3 separate regions of the Homo sapiens genome follow, and regions 2 and 3 are each linked to region 1. Evidence: promoter capture Hi-C in 16 types of primary human blood cells and fetal thymus (Javierre and others, 2016). All regions are on one chromosome and are shown on one strand. Each heading gives the region's core, a stretch centred on a gene start or on the middle of the fragment in contact. The rest is flanking DNA. Distances are from core to core; before and after follow the strand shown.

The links. The method cuts DNA at HindIII sites, captures the fragments that hold promoters and counts their contacts. A CHiCAGO score of 5 or more calls a contact.
Region 2: a fragment that was not itself captured here is called in contact with the fragment with the promoter of GRAMD1B in region 1 in 1 of 17 cell types (fetal thymus); the score reaches 5.5 in fetal thymus.
Region 3: a contact is called between a fragment that was not itself captured here and the fragment with the promoter of GRAMD1B in region 1, in 1 of 17 cell types (fetal thymus). The highest score is 5.2, in fetal thymus.

Annotation. Positions count from the first base shown.
Region 1 is chr11:123,427,815-123,432,435 of GRCh38, reverse strand. It overlaps GRAMD1B (GRAM domain containing 1B), which reads right to left and starts at 2,167. Exons shown (of 20, transcript NM_001387025.1): 1 at 1,270-2,167. The coding sequence starts at 1,643. It overlaps LOC124902776 (a long non-coding RNA gene), which reads left to right and starts at 1,222. Exons shown (of 2, transcript XR_007062928.1): 1 at 1,222-1,489; 2 at 3,620-4,621. RefSeq lists silencers at 1,540-1,589, 1,700-2,029. The HindIII fragment of the contact is 5,032 bases long and covers 1-4,436 here.
Region 2 is chr11:122,698,660-122,703,280 of GRCh38, reverse strand. All of the region lies in intron 1 of UBASH3B (ubiquitin associated and SH3 domain containing B), which reads right to left. Among named protein-coding and RNA genes, the nearest start is that of UBASH3B, 45 kb to the right of the region's middle. The HindIII fragment of the contact is 1,103 bases long and covers 1,811-2,913 here.
Region 3 is chr11:122,746,066-122,750,686 of GRCh38, reverse strand. All of the region lies in intron 1 of UBASH3B (ubiquitin associated and SH3 domain containing B), which reads right to left. Among named protein-coding and RNA genes, the nearest start is that of CRTAM, 90 kb to the left of the region's middle. RefSeq lists an enhancer at 1,421-1,470. The HindIII fragment of the contact is 221 bases long and covers 2,690-2,910 here.

The DNA of each region.
Region 1 (4,621 bases), core at 918-3,417:
ACAGGAGCCTGCCACTACACCCAGCTAATTTTTGTACTTTTAACAGAAATGGAGTTTCGCCATGTTGGCCAGGGTGGTCTCGAACTCCTGACCTCAAGTGATCCACACGCTTCGGCCTCCCAAAGTGCTGGGATTACAGGTGTGAGCCACTGTGCCCAGGTGTTCATTTCTTATACAAGCCTCCCCTCATCTTCCTTCTCAGCCTCTACAACCCCTTACTCTACCTATCCTTCCCCCACACCCTCCTCAACATCACCACTATTAGCTGTTACTAGACTGAGCTCACAGAAATATTCAGTAAGTACTTACTGAATTGAAATCAATGTAATTGAACAGATTTGGAGAAGGAATTCCAGGGAAAGTGATCAATGACTCAGTTGCTCCGCACAAGAACACAAATCCATTAAGAGACAGGACCCTAAAGTCTCAAAGTAAATATGTAGGATTCGTGGTACCGATGAACAAGTGAGGACTCCCTGCCCTCCACCAGGCAAGGGGCTTGGCTCAGACACAACTTCCTGAAGCAGCAGTCCTGACCAGGGCTGTGTAGAGCTGCTCTAGGGCGCCCTGCAGCAATTCTCTACGTGAGGGAAGCTCAACCTTCTCCCATTACCCAGATGCCACATTGACCTAGGCAAAAAACTAGCTGGTACAAACCACAGTCTTGTAGGTATCGATGTCTAAAGACTCTGATATGGTAGGAAATGTGACTCACTCAATGTCAATATTTCACTTCCACACAAGTGAGCCAGTTAAGGCAATCCGGTGTGGCCAAACATAAAATAAGATTGAAACGGAGTCCTGAAATATAAACCACTTAACTGTTCTCTGGCCTTTTACTATCTCCTTCTGTAGAAAGGGAGCCATAGTAATACCTACCTCAGAGAGTTTGCGTAGGGATGAAATCTGGAGGTACATGAAGTGCGCAACATAGTGGCCCGCACATGGTAAGGGCTCAATAACTATTAGCTGTTATTATTTTTATTATTTATTTCGCTGCGAGGATCAAGGGAGATGGAATGCAGCGTAAAGCCCCACGTAAACGTGTCGTGCAACATGAAGCCCCTCACCCTGAGTTGGGGAGCGGGTGGCACGCGTGGAAGCTGAATGCCACCATCCCTGGGACCAGGCGCAGCGCCCTCCAGAAGCGCCTCTGGTGACGGGCTCCTGTTCTCCCCCAGGACGTTTCCCCCAGAATGCCCCGGGGCCCTGGACGGCTCTGGAGAGGACGGGAGGGAAGGGAAGGAGACGGGCGGAACGGGGACGTACCTGCTTTCACTGCACTCCTTCCGCTCCCTCACCCTCAGCCACTTGCGGAGGAGGAAGCGTTTTCGGCGCGGGGACGCGCTGGGTGTGGAGCAGTTGGACCACGGGGTGTCCTCGTCGCTGGAGGGCGTGATCTCGATGGACGGCAGCTGCAGGAACTCCTTGCCGGGGGCCAAGACGGCGGGCAGGTCCCGGGCCAGCCCGGCCTCCAGGCTCTGCTCCTGTACGTTCTTCATGCGGCGCATCTTGAAGCGCCGGCGGCGAAGCGTGGGGGTCGACGAACTGGACCAGACCGGGCTGCCCTCGGGCGCACCCTGCGGCTCGGGCACCTGCAGGGCGGGCAGCGGCCGGTTCTCCATCATGTTGGCCGCCGGCATGGGGGCCGTCGCCTCTGCGCTCCCCCTGAGCCCTCCGCCAGCGGCCTGGTTCGCGTCTCCCTCTGGCTGTTCCCCACCCTCGGCCCCGCGGCACACTCCCCAATCCTGGGGCCGAAGGAACAAGTTCCTTTCCCGGAGCGCAGCGAGGAAGGGACGCGAGGGGACGCGGCGTAGCGCGCCGCCGCCCGGAGTCTAACTTTTCGGAGCGCGCGTCCTCCGGGCCGTCAGCCGCCGGCGAGGCCACCCGGGAGGGGCGGGAGCCGCCTGCCAGCCACTCGGCAGCCCTCCTGGGGCTCCCCTCGCGCGCCCGCTTGTTTTTCTTCCGCTGCGCTTCCTCGCTTGCTGGCGTCTTTGCCTTAGCGGGACTCGGCAGCCAGGGGCCCCAGGGGGCGGTGCAGCAAACTCTCAGCGGTTTGCGTTCAGCAGACCAGGTTGGGGAGCCGGCTTGGCGCTGCAGGGAGGTAGAGAGCGGGAGGAAGAGGCAGTGGTAGGAGGGAAAGGGAGAGAGAGACAGAGAGAGAGAGAGAGAGAGGAAGCGAGACACTGGATAAAAACAAAAAAGGAGGAGGAGGAGCGGGGGCTGGGGGCGGGGTGAGGGGGGCTATCCTGAATGGGCTAGCACTGGCAGCGACCGCTAGTGTAACTGTACACGGATTCCCTCGGGGAGGGACTCGACCTCCAAGTAAAGGCTGCTCCAATCAGCCTACTGAAATAGGATCACAAACCAAACTTTCTCAGGGCAACGATTGGCCAGGCAACTCCCATTAGTCGAACTCGGCTATTTCCTTGGGGGTGGGGGGTGCAGAGAAAGGGGAGTCAATGAATTCAGTCCTCACTCTCTCAGGCCACCCATGATACAGGGTTGAAGGAAAATGAGGAGACTTTTCAACTAGCTCTTGTCTCCTAAGAAAGGCAGTTTAAATTATTTGGGGGCGTGAGTAGTGGCACTGCAGGCCGGAGTATAGTCAGAGGAGGAAAGCAAGGTTGCTGGAGGCTGCTTCCAAAATGACAAGCTGAGAAGAGGACAGTTCTCCCGTGGCGGCGTGAGCTGAGGATACCAGACATGACATACCAAGGAAAGACAGACAACAGGGTCTGAGAGACAAAGGACACAGGACCAGTAAGGAAAATGGGGCCTGAACCCTGTACATGAGCCAGCTGCCAGTACCATAGCCGCGTCCCTAGCAAAGAATGAAATGAGGAGTCGGTGAGCACCCACAAAGCAATGCATCCAACAGAGCCCCAGGGAGTCGAGGGTACCCCCCCTTACATTGCTGAGGGCTGATTCAGTTCTGCTTCAGCCTGCCATGGACTGAGTCACAGAATCCAGTATGTCCCCATGTCATGGAACCTAGGAAGTCTGGTTCAGTCCTGGTAGCATCCCAAGATGTGCTGAACCACACTCACTCTCTAGACCCAGGCCCTAAGAGATCATCAACCCTAGAACCGATCCATCCTATTTAGGTGCTCTCTGTGGGCACTGAGTCTAACCCAGCCCAGCTCCTAGAGCAGGGCTGTAGCAGCCATTCTCCTCCTTCAACCCCAGCCCAATGCATTTGTCTCTTGGGTCAGTAACTGTTTTGTTTTGTTTTGTTTTTAAGAGACAAAGTCTCACTCTGTTGCCCAGGCTGGAGTGCAGTGGTGCAGTCATGGCTCACCGCAACCTTGAATTCCTGGGCTCAAGCTGTCCTCCCAGCTGAGCCTCCTGAGTAGCTGGGAGTACAGGTGCGCACCACCACACGCAGCTAAGTTTTATTTCTTTTTGTCGATATGAGGTCTTGCTATATTGCCCAGGCTGGTCTCAAACTCCTGGCCTCAAGTGATCTGCCCACCTTGGCCTCCCAAAGTGCTGAGATTACAGGCATGAGCCACCATGCCCAGCCTGGTCAGTAACTTTCAAAGAGATCATGAGAAGCACCCAAGAACATACCATGAAGTCCACAATCTGATCCACCCTTCTTTTCTGCCTCTCTCAGAGTCCAGTTTCCATCTGGGAGCCAATGCCCAGCTTCCGTGCCAGGACAAAAGTCACATTTCACAAGTGTCCCGAAGCTGAGGAAAATTCACATCCCTAAAGATCACAAGAATTCACTGCAAGTAAATACATCCCTGCAGTTCAGCAAGACATCAAGGATGACAGCTGGCTATGGATCTACCAAGCTCTGCAATGACACTTGTCAAGTATGGAAAAGCTCAAGGCATCCTGACATTACACAACTTTTGAGAGGCTGGGAAACCAAGGGAAATATTTCTTCCTCAGGGAGAGAGATACTGCGGCTGAAGAGCCAAGGCCAGGCCCTCCCATAAATGACTCCCTGGAATGTCAGCCCCCGTTTCTGAAATCCAGCCACTGGCCCTCTCAGGAGTGATTTGGTTTCACTCTACTTTAACTCCTGGACATAGCACAGAAAGCAGAAACCCCTTGCCATCAGGTGTCAGGCCTGCCAAGGTCACCTCTTCCGGCTCCAGGGATGCTGAGGAGATTGCACTGTAACTCCAAACTTCAGGATCGGGAGCTAAGCCAAGTTCCACAGAGTTTGTTCACTGCCTTGTACTTCCTCCAAGGACGAGTGTTTTGCAAGGGATCTGATAACTTCCCAGTTCAAGGAACCTGAGTTTTGGGCGGGCTCTTGACATAGAAGATGAGGGTCTCAGGGGCTTATGGGAAGAAAGGAAGCCAGGACACCACCATTCGCTTGGAGGCCAAAAACACAAAAGGATGGTCCACAAGACAGGGGCCAGAAGATTCTATGGGCAGCTTGGGAAGAGGGAGAAGAAACAAGGGAGGAAGCTTTAAGTTTGTTCTGGGCACTCTGAATTTAAGTGTATACCTCTTACAAGGAAGAAAAGCCACCAGCACCCTCTTCCCACACACTTCAGCCACTTTTCCCACTCACAGTAGATTCTGGAACTGAAATCCTGTGAGATTTAATTCAAGCCTTGGGCACAGCAGTGGCTAAGAGTGATCATTTACATTT
Region 2 (4,621 bases), core at 1,113-3,612, 730 kb after region 1:
TAATTTTTTGTATTTTTAGTAGAGACGGGGTTTCACTGTGTTAGCCAGGATGCTCTCAATCTCCCGACCTCGTGATCCGCCCACCTCAGCCTCCCAAAGTGCTGGGATTTACAGGCATGAGCCACCGTGCCCGGCCAAAGAAAAAAATATTTCAAAGAAGTGGCATGTCCACCACCAACCCTGTTCAGTAAACATCTACTAAGTACCTGCTGTGGGCGAGGCTTGGGGGAAAGAGGAAAGAGGACATTTCAAAAGGAATCAGATACAGCACTGATCTTGAGGGAGTGTCCAATTTGTTTATAGAATGAGTGAATAAATGAGAAAACAAATGATGAGTGAATGCAGAATCAGGATTAGTAGTAAGTTTTATAGCAATTCCACTCCTTCATTTAATGATGTTAGTATAATTCAAAGATGAGTGAGGAGAATATAAATTTTTCCTGAGTTAAAAATCTGGCCAGGCACGGTGGCTCACGCCTGTAATCCCCAGCACTTTGGGAGGCCGAGGCGGGTGGATCACCTGACGTCAGGAGTTAGAGACCAGCCTGGCTGACATGGTGAAACCCTGTCTCTACTAAAAATACAAAAATTTGCCGGGTGTGGTAGCATGCGCCTGTAATCTCAGCTACTCGAGAGGCTGAAGCAGGAGAATCGCTTGAACTCGGGAGGCAAAGGTTGCAGTAAGCTGAGATCGCACCATTGCACTCCAGCCTCGGCGACAAGAGCAAAATTCCATCTGAAAAAAAAAAAAACCTGGTGATTTTTTTTCCTACTGCTTACTGTTTTATCTGTTCCCCAAAACTCCAAACACGTTTCTTGCAACCTAGGGTTCTCTGAAATCTCCAATCTGACCTTGAACGATGAAGGCAAGGGATCTCCGTGCTTGGTAGGGGTAGGGTCCTATATTATACTTTATGTGATGATATTCTCTGGCCTCCTTTAAGTACTTTAAAAAGATCTTTATTTTAGACTCTTCTCTCTCCATGCTGATGTCATTAGTATTCTGGATGAAATGTTTCCTTGCACGTAACTATGTTGGACTTGGATTCATTACTAAAGCAAATAATTCGGTTTTCCTAGGAACAAATGCTACTTTTCCTCATGGGCTGTTTGCTGACCATCCCTCTTGGTTGAGCATACGCTGCATTACTTGGAAGCCACATGTTAGGACTAAGGGAGACATAGAGAAGTAAAGAACACAGCATCTGTCCTCAAAGAAACGGTCGTCTTCACTGGGAGGGAAGATTGAAATGTGGCATTACAGCTGGGCGTGGTGGTTCACACTTGTAATCCCAGCATTTTGGGAGGCCGAGGCAGGAGGATCACGTGAGCCCAGGAGTTTGAGGCTGCGGTGAGCATGATCATGCCACTACATGCCAGCCTGGGTGACAGAGCAAGACACAGTTTCTTGGAAACAAACAAACAAACAAACATGGCAGTACGAGGGCTCAGAAGGGAAGATGCTAATATATTCACTCAGAGTTCAGAAAAGGCAGATGGTTTGCTTTGGGCAAAAGTTGTCAGGAGAGGTTTTCAGACCAAAGCAAGGACATCTTGAGGGGAGAGTCAAAAGGAAAGAATTAATCCTATTTTCAGCTCTCTATCCCTGAATACTCTTAGTTCCTTCAAGCAGCAGTGGGCTAACAAGTGATGCTACAGGACCGTATGCCAATGCAAGCGAGGACCCTGTGACCTTCAACAGACCTCTGCGTCACCATGGAGCTTTGAGATGAGTGTCAGAAGGAAGAACAAGCTCATTTTGAAAAGTACACAGACGTTGGAAACTGTGAGTATTACCCAAAAAAAAGCTTGAAAGGCTCCCATCCCCATCGGGTGACCAGCAGAACTTGCCACTGCAAGAGCCTCGTTCTCATTAATAAGAGTTCATTTTATTATTTCCATGCTATGTAATTTCTCCCACTGCCTTTTAGACTGGAACATTCAACTTTTTGCACTTCATATTAATTACCCTGGGGGATTCAGGCTACAGTGCACAATAAGAAGACCCAATTAGAACATTGCCTACTGTCTTTTTGTTTCTTTGTAATCCAAAATCAATCAATAACATCCTTAAATCCTCACAAGAAATGACTAGAGTTATTAACGTCTTGGACAAAGAAGCCAAGAAATTCAAAGCAGATGGAGCAGAATCACACAAATCACACAACCATGCAAATTAGTAGCAGCCCGTGGGCTTGACAGGGTCAGAATGCTGGGGGTTGGGAATTTTTAATATGAAACAGAAAATATACCCCATAACACTAATGTTCTTTTTGTGATGAGACGTGATGATTCTGGTTTAATGTGGAGCAGGGTGTCTTCAGGAGCTCTGAGAAAACACAGGCTTCCCAGTGCTCATCTACATAGCACATCCCTGTCTGGGACAGTTTACTGTTCACCCTACATGAAGTGTTCTCTCACCTGTCAGAAACACACTTCCTCTACAAATTGCATCCCCTACTGTTAACATCAAGATCAGAAGTAGGCCAGGTGCTTTGGCTCATGCCTATATTCCCAGCGCTTTGGGAGGCCGAGGAGGGTGGATCACCTGAGGCCAGGAGTTCAAGACCAGCTTGACCAACATGGTGAAACCCCATCTCTACTAAAAATACAAAATTTAGCTGGGTGTGGTGGTGAGCACCTGTAATCCCAGCTACTGGGGAGGCTGAGGCAGGAGAATTGTTTGAACCCGGGAGGTGGAGGTTGCAGTGAGCCGATATCATGCCACTGCACTTCAGACTAGGTGACAGAGCGAGACTCCATCTCAAAAAAAAAAAAAAAAAGATCAGAAGTAAACTATGAGAGTGAGTAAGATGAACATATGAACATTTACATTGAAAAATGTGAAAAAAACTTAAGATGTAATGGTGTTTGGAAAAGAATTGTTAACTGTATCCACTAAACCATAAAGCTTAACAAAATCCCAAACTTGGGAAATGAATTTTAAAAATGGACTCACCATGTGTAACTCTGGTCAGAGCCTAAACAAAGGAGGAGACAAAGCTTATGATGTCAGCCCATCTCATTCAGCACTGGGGACTTTGTGCTAGTTCAAAGTGTTGAGGAATTGGATCTCTACCTAATCATAAGAGACTGACCTCTTCCTCACTCCAACAGCGGTGCTGCTCCCGGGGGAATGATGGTTACCTCAGTTTCTCTTGGCCTCTCAGATGTGCAGCATGTCGGGTCTCCGCTAGTACCCACACATGATACCTCATGCTGCAAACCTACCCACTGAATACGGCCAAGTGAATAAAGCACCACCAACAACACGACCTCTAGTTCCACTGCTGGGCTCTGGGTACCATTGTCAATTCCTTGATCGATTTCCAAAGCTAAACAATAATATTTACGTAAACCTTAATAGATTACAAGACATTGAAATATCAGTCATCTGGGCTGGGCATGGTGACTCATGCCTGTAATCCCAGCACTTTGGGAGGCCGAGGCAGGTAGATTACTTGAGCTCAGGAGTTCAAGACCAGCCAGAGCAACATGGCGAAACCATGTCTCTACAAAAAAATACAAAAATTATCTGGCTGTCATGGCATTTGCCTCTAGTCCTAGCTACTCAGGAGGCTGAGGTGGGAGGATCGCTTGAGCCCTGGAGGCGGAGGTTGCAGTAACCAGAGATTGCACCACTGCACTACAGCCTGGTGGCAGAGGGAGACCTTGTTTCAAAAAAAAAAGAAAGGAAAGAAAGAAAAGAAAGAAAGAAAGAAAGAAAGAAAGAAAGAAAGAAAGAAAGAGAAAGAAAGAAAGAGAAAGAAAGAAAGAAAGATTTAAAAAGAAAAATCAGTCATCTGATGTGTTTCTCACAATAATTTTGGAAGGTGGATAATATTATCCACAGGCATTTCACAGAAGAAGAGATAGCATAGAGGTTGCAGGAAATGCCAAGAACACATAGCAGCTTCCTAAGATTCAAACTCAATTCGGTGACTCCACGTGCCACACTCCTCTGAGTTGTGAGTTCTCTAAGATGAAGATCACATTTTTCCATCTGTAAGACACTGAGTGTTGCCATGAGGATTAAATAAAATAACCTAGGTACAGCAGGCACCTAATAGATACCAGTTCCCTCCCATGCCCCTCCTCCATCAGGGGCGAAAAGATTTAAAAATAATCCCAATCCGGGCGCAGTGGCTCACGCCTGGAATCCCAGCACTTCGGGAGGCCAAGGCAGGTGGATCACCTGAGGTCAGGAGTTCGAGACCAGCCTGGCCAACATGGAGAAACCCCGTCTCTACTAAAAATACGAAAATTAGCTGGGTGTGGTGCTGGGCACCTGCAGCCCCAGCTATTCAGGGGGCTGAGGCACGATAATCGCTTGAACTGGGAGGTGGATGTTGCAGCGAGCCGAGATCGCAACATTGCACTCCAGCATGGGCTACAAGAGCAAAACTCCATCTCAAATAAATAAATAAATAAAATCCCAGTATATGGTCTGCACACACTACACATTTATAACCACAACTTCAGATTAAAGTGAACATTAATGACCGTACTGAAGCAAATAGATTTCCAGAGGCATGGGGAGTGCTGGGTGTCGGGTGGATGGAATGTGGGGGCTGTGGGATCATTGGGAGTTAGGGAACTAGCTTTAGGTTCTGACCATTGT
Region 3 (4,621 bases), core at 1,551-4,050, 680 kb after region 1:
GCATTATGAAAAATGGACTCTAGAGATGCAAAACGGCTATTAACCACCATCAGGTGCAAGGCAGGCAGTATCTGGGTTCTTAACTTCTCCAGATTCATTTCATGAGGATCCTTTGGAAATAATTCTTTTTCCCTTTCTCTTCAGGATGGATGGAATTTGGTTCCTTACCTCATGGAGAGTAAAATAATCAGTCACTTGCCCTTAACACACATAATACTAGTGTGCCAGTAAGCTAAGGTGAAGTTGTTGTAGCTTTGGGGGTTTGGGTCAAAATCACAACAACATTCTGTGGGGGTAACTGAGGGTACATTGTAACTTTGAGTGTGTCCCTCCCGGTTCCACCCAGCCGATGTGTTCTTTAAACTTGTCCCTCCCAACCAGCCTGAGCAATATGCCGGAAGTAAAGAAGAAAGGTGGGGGGGCCCTGCAACTGAGCCCTATCTCAACAGTGGGAGGAGGCCAGTGGTGATGAGCCGTTCCCCTAGCCCAGGCAGCATCGGCCTGAGGAACAGGTGTTGCACTCAGAAACACTGAATATGGGGTCACAGGATCTGACTTTGAGCCTTGGCTCTGCTATTTATCAGCAGGATTTGAAGAAAATCTCTCTGGGCATTGGCATCTCATCTATAAAAGTGGTTTAAGAATGATTACCTTGGCCAGGAGCAGTGGCTCACACCTGTAATCCCAGCACTTTGGGAAGCCAAAGCCGGCATATCACTTGAGGCCAGGAGTTTGAGACCAGCCTGGCCAAGATGGCAAAAACCCATCTCTACTAAAAATATAAAAATTAGCCTGGTGTGGTGACGCATGCCTGTAATCCCAGCTATTTGGGAAGCTGAGGCACGAGAATAGCTTGCGCCCAGAAGGCGGAGGTTGCAGTGAGCCGAGAAAGCGCCACTGCATTGCAGCCTGGGGGACAGAGCGAGACTCTGTCTTAAAATAAAATAAATAAAATAAAATAAAATAGAATGATTACCTCTCAAATAGCGATTACTCTGTTAGAGTTAGAAGACAGTGTGGTGCAGTGGTCAGACCCATGGACTGATGCACAGTCCTGGATTTGAATTATGTTCCCTTGTTCACTAGCTGTGAGGCCCTTGGTCAATTCACTAAATAGAGCTAACCCTCAGCTTCTGACAATAGAGAATGGAACAATACAGAGAGGGTTGTTTGGAGGTTTTTACAGACTCAATGCGTGGTGCACAGTTGGCACCCAATAAGCCTTCTTTGTTAATATTACAGATGTAAGATGCAAAGCACAATGCAAATGCAAACAATTGTGATTATTTTCTAGGTTTAAGGCAAGTGTTGCCAATACATGAAGTGCTTTGCATATAGTAAATGCATAATAAGTCTGTGCTAATTATAGCATCCATAGAAGCAGTTTCGCTCTGGAATGCAGCTCAGAGATTAGTATCATTTGCAATAACTACATTCCAGGCTGCCAGCCCCACAAATTAGACACCAACTAAAGACATGCAGTACATGATTCAGCTGTATCTCAGGGGAGGGCTTCTGATGACAGCCAAAGCCACAAGGGATCCGATCTGAGTACTTTCGATGTGTCAGCAGAAGGCTCTTCCTCTCACAGTGATGATGCACATACTGCTATGTGTAGTATGGGGCACACAGTGTGCTGGGACCTCTCCAGGTCCAGGAGAACATAAAGCTGTCGTGGACTGTCTTGGCCATGAAAACATTCTCCATGTAGGCGTAGCCAAAGTTGAGGGTTCTGGCAGAGGTGATGTGTTCTTTAAAAAATAAAAATTAATTTAAAAAAAAGAAAGAAAAAACAAGGGCTCTCTTTCCTTCCGTGTACTCACTCTTTTGCTGACATCCAAGGGACTTGTTAAGTGGCAAATCAGTATTAAGCACAAGCGTGTGCAAGAGACCCAGGGACTGTGACACAGTTTGGGGTTGGTAGGCGCTTAGAGTTGGGTGGGCAGCAGGCCTTGCATTTAGCCTCACGTCACTGCGACCCTTGGATGGACACTCACAGAGCTCTTGTGTCTTGTTCTGGGTTCACAATCTTCTGTGGACGGGAGGAAATGGAGGTATTCAAAGAATCAAGGAGAAGATGAAAATGTCAAGAAATGCTTTGTAGTAATAAATTGCATAAACGTAAATTATTTAGCCCAACCTAAAGGAAGCTAAACTGAGATTAAATGACATTAACAACAGGCTGTTTTCCATTTCCACTGAGGGAAAAGCAAGTAAGGAAGAGAATTCTCCGAGTGCACAGGGAGCTGGGATGGCGCGTGCCCGTCTATAGGGGCAGCTGGGATGAAACCAGACTGGAGGTATGTTGATCGTTACTGAATCTGGATGAAGATACATGGGGGTTCATTACACTATCCTCTCTGCTTTTGTGAATGTTGATAATTTCCAAAAAGTTAAAACAATGAAAGAAAGATGGCAGCTGCTACTCAACTCCCACCTACAGCTGAAAGGCAGAATGACGGTCTGAAGTTGTCCACACCGATTTGTTTGGAATGATGGATTTTGTCAGTTTTAAACCACTATGTGAAGTCGCTCCACCTTTTCTTATTTGCCACAATGTGTTTCTTCCAACACAAGGGAGGTATTCTTGCTCTCCTTTTGCAGGATCCTCCTTTTGCAGGATTGGGGGACTGAGTGTGCAGACTTTTGTCCCAGTTAATGATTTCATAGCTGCTGCTACTTACAAGCTTATCATGTGTAACGTGGTGTATGTACTATGCTCTTTACCTGCATTGTATCATTTAACCCTCACAACAGTCAGCTCATTATTATCCCTGTTACACAAATGAGGGAACAGAGGCTTTGAAAGGTTAAATAGCTCACTCAAGGGAATATATGGATCTTAGGTCACAAAGGCAGGATTTGAAACCAGGCAGTTTGAGTTCCTCTCCATGCCTGTGCTATGAAGCTTACTTAAACTTTGGCATCCTCCCTTTGTACTTTCCAGATAGAACAGCTCTAATATTTTCATTGCGTCTCTATAAAGAAAGCTTTCAGAAGCTTAAAGACGTTCCCCAGCTTTGACTCTGTCTCCAAACGTACAGGAACCCAAACCACCCAACATCACTCCAGCTGCAGATGCTATTGTTTATAATATGTTATCCCGCTTCTTTCTCACAGCAGTCCCAACGGGGGCTCAGTCAAGTCTCATAACTCTCTAAGGACACAGAGCCATGGCCCAGCCCACACTCCCCAGGACTCTGGTGTATTTTTCTCCCCTCCTATCTGATGCTGCCTCTAGGTCCTAAGCTCAGCACTGTCCCCACAGGGTGCCTTACATGCACAGTGAGAGAATAACATTTCCCCAAACTCCTTGGCTGGTGTCATCAGGACAATTCCACTCCACTGGTTCTGGGTCTATTAACTCATTCTGTTCTCAGTGCATAAGCTCTTGCTAAGACGATTTTAGGGGTCCTATTGGCTGCTGGTTTCACTCTCCCTTTCATTCTCCAATTTATAGTCCACCCTCCACCAAGACTAGAATAATCTTTCTTAACCATTAATCTAGATCACATCACTGTCCTGCTTAAAATCCTGCAGAGGTTCCCCATATCCTTGGCCATGCCTGTGCTGGCCCCTGTCAGCCCAGCTGCCTCTCCGGTGACCACCCCCACCCCGCAGCCTCTGCTTCAGCCAGGAGCCTCGGCAGTTTCCAAAACACACCCTGGTGTTCTCTCTGTTGAACCTTTGCCCACTTTGCTTTTTCTGCTGGGATTGTCCACATTCCCCCTTTTCTGCCTAATGAATTTAAAGGATGACTTTAGGTCAAGATTTCACCATTCAGCGAAATCCTTTCTGAATCACAAATCCCCCCTCACGGCCCCTCCCACACTTTACCTATCCATCACTCCCAGTGGACTGTAAGCTCTTTGGAGATAAGACTCCATATCTGTTTAACTTGGTGCCTTCAAAACTGAGCACACGGTAAATGCCCTGAACTATTCATGAAATAAGTACAGAATGAATAAATCCTCCCGACTTCCCCACCACAGATAGCAGAGCAGCTCTCTTCGGAAGTCTCATAGCACTCTCTACCATTCTTCTATTAGCCCTTCCAGTCTTATCTCTAATTATTTCCTTCTATGTCTATTTTTCCCACTACATTGGAAGCATTCTTCTCCATTAGACTCTGAGATCTTCAAGGGTAGGAGGTAAAGGCCTGAGCACAAAGCCCAGCACATAGTAGGTGTTTAATTTATTGATTGAATGAAGTGACGCTTTCTTGTCAAACTTAATCACCCGGAGGCACCATCTTATACCTCAGATAACTTCCGCGTCAATACAGTGGTTTGAGTTTGTTCACGCTGAAGCAACCTTCCACTTGTCCGCCCACTCATATCTTAGGGGATCCTCCCCTCCTCTACCCTTTTGGCATGGAACCTCCCTACCGAAAGAGCTCTGTGTCACCCATAGACGTGTGAGTTTCAGTCTGAACTTCCTTTTTCAGGTTATTTATAAAAACGTAAAAGCTGCCCTACTCAATGCCAGCCACTGTTGAAACACTATCCTTTGCATGGTCCCTGGGCCTTAGCTCAGTCCTAGGTTGCCATCTTTGTAGTGTATATCTTTCATGACACAAGGGCGGGCACGGAGCCTTCATCTAATTATCCGTCTGCCCACC